Linked DNA regions of Homo sapiens: region 2 is linked to region 1. Evidence: promoter capture Hi-C in 16 types of primary human blood cells and fetal thymus (Javierre and others, 2016). All regions are on one chromosome and are shown on one strand. The core of a region is centred on a gene start or on the middle of the fragment in contact, and the rest is flanking DNA. Distances in the headings are between cores, read along the strand shown. Region 1 holds the start of KLHL15 (kelch like family member 15). Region 2 overlaps KLHL15 (kelch like family member 15).

Region 1 (3,306 bases), core at 555-3,054:
GAGCCGGGGGCCGCTCCGGGCCGCGCGCCCCCTGCGGGCCGCGGGAGCCGCCCGGGGCCCGCCCAGGGAGGCGGGGCTGGCCGGCAGGGGGCCCAGTGCGCTGTCGTCTTGACGCGGAAGGCCGCCACGCTGGGAGAGAGGGCGGAGGGTGGGAAGCCGTTGGGGGCGGGGAGCTGGCCCGGGAGGCCCCCCCCTCGGCCCCTGCTGGCGCCCCGAGGGGGCCAGCCCGTGGCCTGGCGGGTGTTTACCTTCCCCCTGGTCGAGCGCCAATGCCGCCATCTTTCAGCCCAAAACGCGTCACTTCCGGCGCCACGGGAGCGGGAGCGGGTGTGGGAACGGGGGGGAAGGGGGGGCGGGGAAGGCTGTCCCGCGCCCGCGGCGCCCCGCGTCCCGGCTGCCGGCCCGCCACGCCAGCGGTTTCCCACCGAGGAAAACAGGCGGCCGGGCGTCGCGGCCCTGGACTGGGCCCGACGCAGCTTCCCCCGCGGCGCCGCCGTCGGGGCTGAGGACACTCAGCTGTCCTCGTCCCCTTGCAGCGGTCTCTCTCCGCCTGCACGAGCGATGGGCCCTGAGCCACTGCGGTGCGCCCACCCTCGACAAGTTGAGGGCTAGGAAGCCAGGAAAGTGTCTTTTTGCATCTTGGCCACGGTGGGGGTGGGGGAATCGGGGACAACGTGGAGGGAGCTTTTCCATAGCTACCTGTTATAAAAGTGACTAGATCTGCGCCAAATGACATCATTTTTTGTAAGGCAACTTGCAGTGGACTATTGCGTCACTGTCCACTTGGCTTACTGCACAACAATTACACGTTTCAGAAATCGATTTCCCAAGGGTGGGAAAATTCATAAAAAATTGCATGTCTGCACCACCCGGAGATAATGCCGGATTTAAAAAAGCTGTCTCTACTTGCGTCAAAATAATCAAGAACGAACATTCAGAGGGCAGTGATTTTTGTTGTTCGTTTTTTATAGAATTCTAGCTAGTACTTTTTAAATATTACCTTTTCTTGACAAGAATATAAAACTAGACTATAGGACTGTTTTGTAAATTTATTATGGCATCTCTTTCTGGGAAAAGTGTAGATGACGGAAATACACAGTTGGAAGCCCGTGGATCTACAATTAACCTTAAATTAGGGCATCCATTGCCCATAGCAGATCCTAAACTGAGGTATTTCGGCTTCCCCCACCCCCACCCCCCGCCGCCATTTTCTCTCTAGACCAATATCCCGATGAACTTTCCGTGAGAGGTGTCGCTAAAAGCGATAATTATCTCTTTCTAGCAAACTTGAACATACCATCTTTCCCAAGAGGCCAAAATAGCACACGGTGTACTGTTTTGCTGAAGTAGACTACTTCGTGGGAGAGATAACACAATCACTTCAATCTTTTGGAAATACGCTTCCTTATTCCGATTTAAACTATAACAAGCTTTAAAAAAACTGTAAGACACTGAAATTCCCAAGTTGTTCACACTTTCTTTCCATCTTTTCCAATAGCTCCTTTAAGATATTTCTGTTCATTATTTAAAAATCCCTGCTTGCCATATTTGTATCTATTACTACATGACAAATTACCCCAGAATTTCACATTAAAACAAATTTTTAAAATTAAATCATAAAATAAACTTTAAAAATGCATACATTCCACTTCTGAATATTTAAATGTTCATGCATTATTCCCGAACATCTAAACGCTGAGTTTGGATTTTTGTACATTAACTAACATTTTAAGCTATACATTACTATGTGGCACTGACCTGTCTAAAGAGAGGCTTCTGTTCTTGATTCAAGCAAGAGTTGAAACGTTTCTGCGCTCTTTGTACCAGGTATAAATGTAGTGAGTGTATGTCATAAGCCATTGTGTGATCACCGTGCTTCCCGTCCCTCCTTATTTTGACATTGCAAGGTCTCGTGGAATTTCAAATGTGCTTTTTTGGATATTTATGTAGTTTTAAAACTGGGCTGTGTCTTTCAATCAATCTATACGTTTACTATATGAACCCCTCCCCAAGTTATCTTCAATCAATGATGCCTCTTTCACTCTTATTTCTTATTTTTATGTTATTATTATTATTTTTTTTTTGAGACAGTCTCACTCTCGGCCAGGCTGGAGGGCAGAGGCATGATCTCAGCTCACTGCAGCCTTGACCTCCCGGGCTCAAGCAATCCTTCCACCTCAGCCTCCCGAATAGCTAGGACCACAGACGTGCCCCACCATGCTCGGCTAACTTTTCTTTTCTTGTTTTTGTTTGTTTGTTTGTTTTGTTTTTGTTTGCTTGTTTTTTTCTGAGATGGAGTCTGTCGCTCAGGCTGGGGTGCAGTGGATCTCGGCTGACTGCAACCTCCGCCTCCCGGGTTCAAGCGATTATCCTGCCTCAGCCTCCCGAGTAGCTGGGATTACAGGCGCTCGCCACCGTGCCCAGCTAACTTTTGTATTTTTAGTAGAGACGGGGTTTCACTGTGTTGGCTAGGCTGGTCTCAAACCCCCGACCTCATGATCGCCCGCCTTGGCCTCCCAAAGTGCTGGGATTACAAGCGTGAGCCACTGCACTCCAGCTCAGGCAACAGAGCAAAAACACCGTCTCAAAAAAAAAAAAGAAAAGAAAATATATTTTAACTTTCCCCACCAATTTCTGGACTGTAATGGGAGTTGTTAAATACCTTGAGAGTATCCTTTCACACTGGTAGAGTCCCACAGAGGTAGATGGAAGCTGTCTTTTCTTAGCCCTCTAGCCTAAGTATTTGAGAATACACATTCCTCAATAGCTATTTATTTAGCAGCTAGCGAGGTCGGAAGCATGCTAGAAGCCTGGGCCTGGGAGTGCTGGTGGAGTTGGAATGAGGTTCTTCCCCAGGGGTTCTGAGGATTTAGGATACTGCATACCCTCCTCCTCCCTCCTGTTTTTGCTTTTTAAGAAATTGAGGCCAGGCGTGGTGGCTCACGCCTGTAATTCCAGCACTTTGGGAGGCCGAGGCGGAAGGATCATTAGAGGTCAGGAGTTGGAAACCAGCCTGACGAACATAGTGAAACCCCGTCTCTATTAAAAATACAAAAAATTAGCTGGCATGGTGGTGCGGGCCTGCGGTCCCAGCTACTCAGGAGGCTGAGGTAGGAGTATGGCTTGAGCCCAGGAGGCAGAGGTTGCAGTGAGTCGAGATTGCACCACTGCACTCCAGCCTGGACAACGGAACTAGACGCTGTCTCAAAAAAAAAAAAAAGAAAAGAAAAGTTGAGGCTTTTCAGAAATTCCCAGTCTGTGGTAGTTGTCTTGGTAATCACTTTTCTTTTTACTTTTTTTTTTTTT
Region 2 (3,306 bases), core at 592-3,091, 42 kb before region 1:
TAGAAGAGGCAATTAATTCAACGGAAGAGCTAATGCAGCTTTCAGGAGGGGAGGGAAACATTTGAGTTGGACTTTGCAAAAATAAGTGGATTTTAACAAGCAGGGCAGGGGAAAGAAAGGCAAGTAATTTTAGGCTGGAAAGGAACACATGTAAAGATCACAACAGAATGGAGTGTAGGAAGTGGTGGGGAGAAAGAGGCTGGAAAGGTTGCCTGAGGCCAGGATCTAGGTGCTTGGGAATGCTGTTGAGGTTTCTTAGGTGTCATTTGAAAGATGGCACACATGTGCTGATGTACCCAAGGCCTCCACCTAGTTCTGAATTTCAGAAATGCCTGGAAGACCAATGAATCAAAAATGCTTAAGGAAATCTAAACATCACCAAACTAAGGCTTGAGGCTTGTAAATGCTTTTTCTCAGTTCTATATTTTCATTTTGCAAGACTGCAAAACTCTGTGTTAGTAGAACTTTAATTACTTGGCTTCATTATAAAATTTCCATTGCATATAAGAGTATAAATAATTTCACTCTAATGCTCTCATTTGAATCTGCGGCTGAAAGCACTGGCAGAAATCACATTTTCATGGCACTTCCTTGGCATGTTGAAGGAAAACAAAATGTATTCTGCTAATCAAGTCATTAGTGACTTTGAAAGTGATGGATTATATCAAAAAACAGCAAATAATCAGAGATAAAGAAGTATATTTTAAAGATTAAAAATATTTTATTTAAACTTTTCTTCATAAACACTTTTAACATTTTTTTCAATTTAAAAACAGAATGGATAGCATAAACATGTTTGAATAGATTATATCCACGGCTTGGGAAAAATTACCTGACAAAAATGTAAAGGCTTTCAAAACAGGTATAAAAGGCAAACCTTAAATTATTCTAAGATTTTTATATCGGCCCTAGGATTATTTGACTACTGGCCCAAAATGTACCTAAAGGTCAAAATATTTTTCTATAGACAAAGTATGCCCAAGAGGTATAGGGCATATACAAGTTAGGTAGAAAATAACCTCTCCCAATCACCTCACTGGACCATTCCTTCAGAAAGCAAACACCTAATCCTTACTATATACTGACTAATAACATTTTAAATGCAGTTGTTCCCAAAATGTAAAAAGAAAACCAAAGAATTTAAGGGAGAACAAAGCTGATGGCATTCTCCTCAATGTTACTTGTGTAATATTGAAGTTATACGGTGTACTGAAAGGATATGATTTCCATGAATTTATCTATTCCAGTCTATGCCTACTGAATATTTGACTTTATAAACTCTGGATAAACTAATTTTTAGGACTTCCATTTTTAAGATAAATCTCTTTTTAGAAGATATTTATTCCCAAACCAACTCTAAATGTAATTGAACAAACATATGATCTCTCAAAATGTTCAGAATACAAAAACAAAAATCAAAAATGTATAACAGGCAAACAAGAAAACTGGCACTAGCAGTTTTACTGCCATATAGCCCTCAATTATATCTGATTTACACTATTATCTATGTTGCATTTTACTTCAGTCTAAAACTTTAAATTATGAATTCTCAAAAGAGCTAGTCTCCTCTGAGAGATAGCTTATAAACTGAAATAACAATTTATATTATAAACTGAAATGTTATGACCTACACCCACATATACATATATAAAAATAGTCCCACTGAACGTTTGACATGTTTAGATTATGCAGCTCAAATAATCTGTTATAAAATATTTTAAAGCTTAGTTTCATGTAATTAAGACAAAACTCCATTTTTACCACTTCTCCCCACATAAAGCGTGTGTCCTTTACTATGACTCGAGCAGGCTTCCCAGAATGAGGTGTCCAAAGGTGCTGCTTTAGAAAAGATAAGTGAAGGGCTCAGTCAGTATTTCACAAATTCTAGTAACACTCACACAGAGCAGAGTAATGAGGACACAGAAAGCTGTCTCAAGAAAAGCTAATAATTCTATTAGTTAAGCTTTGCTTTTTAAAAACCAGTAGCATTTCTTCCAACACAAAACCTTCAAAGTGAGAATCTTGCATTTTAAGAAAAGGCTGTAGTGCAAGGAATTTCTTTAAAATCAAAACTTAGAAGGTCAAAGACACGGAAGAGAACAAATGGTTCTAATTAAGATGTAATTAATGAAGATCAGCTATTTTTGTGAACTCTGGCATTTGAGATATAAAGTGAAAACAACACGCATAAAGGTCATAACAGTTAAACTGTATAGATTCAAATCTTACTGAATTTTTCAAAAAACTACTTTTTTGAGCGCAATGTATATAAACAAAAACTCCAAATGAAGCACACAAAAAATAAACTTGAAAAAAATGCTATGAAAAACTTTTCCATAGTTTAGTATAACAAAAATAAATCTCTTGCAGCAATAAAACCATAATTTTAAAAGGGAATGTAAGTTAATCATGGATTTAAAATAACCTAAATTAGAACTACATATAAACAGGGAGTTTTCTCATACATTCAGAACCCAAGCAACAGCAACTATCCTTAAAGCTCAAAACTGATTACAGCTAACATCAGGTCCGACGTGACTTACGTAAAGCTGAACCCAGAGTTAGTTCAAGTTAAGATTTTACGAATTTTACAAAACATGAACTTTGATCTTGGCCTCTGTCTTTAAAATGGAAGACCAAGAATACTCAAATGTTTGCCCAGATGTCACCCTGACTAGGGTCATGAAGTCATATCTAAGCAATTAAAGAGAACCACCACTATAGTGTAAAGGCTTTGATGTGGATACCTGGCCTGATGGCTCTTTCTTGGTCTTTTCTAGCAAAAGACATCAATGAGGAAAATAATGAAGACGTTATTTTCTTTAAAGCAAAATAGCACACATACAAAGCCACTAAACTAATGTAGAAAAAAATTAAATGGCTAACTTATTCCTAACTTTCAAAAATAAAATAATGTATTTTTTAAATGTAGAAAAAGACTTTTACCCATATTACCATGGGAAACAAGATACCAAATTTCATGTTTGGAAACTGTAAGTAAATGACAGGACTAGTTAATGAAAATATAAGTCTCATATATAAAATAAGATTATTATTGATTTTTGAAATCAATGCCAATGGTTTTTTCAAAAGCTACTTATGTACCTGGTTTCTTAAACCCAAATGCCTCCAATTCTGGAGTTTGAAGATCAGGTTTAATCTCATAGTATGTCTAATAACTGCCCAAAAAACCCCCAAAAACCAAAGTCTTCACATTTCCATGACTTCACACTTCCATTTTATGTTCAATGGTGGCAGCAGCAAAAAAACAAACAAACAAACAAAAAAACAAAAAACACCAAACAA

The links. Contacts are between HindIII fragments. The CHiCAGO score rates a contact against its expected background, and 5 or more counts as called.
Region 2: a contact is called between a fragment that was not itself captured here and the fragment with the promoter of KLHL15 in region 1, in 6 of 17 cell types (activated CD4 T cells, naive CD8 T cells, total CD8 T cells and 3 more). The highest score is 11.2, in activated CD4 T cells.

What each region holds. Positions count from the first base shown.
Region 1 is chrX:24,025,382-24,028,687 of GRCh38, forward strand. It overlaps KLHL15 (kelch like family member 15), which reads right to left and starts at 1,805. Exons shown (of 4, transcript NM_030624.3): 1 at 1,759-1,805. RefSeq lists silencers at 1-396, 407-506 and enhancers at 169-673, 674-1,177, 2,385-2,884. The HindIII fragment of the contact is 3,234 bases long and covers 1,429-3,306 here.
Region 2 is chrX:23,983,019-23,986,324 of GRCh38, forward strand. It overlaps KLHL15 (kelch like family member 15), which reads right to left. Exons shown (of 4, transcript NM_030624.3): 4 at 702-3,306. Among named protein-coding and RNA genes, the nearest start is that of KLHL15, 43 kb to the right of the region's middle. The HindIII fragment of the contact is 240 bases long and covers 1,722-1,961 here.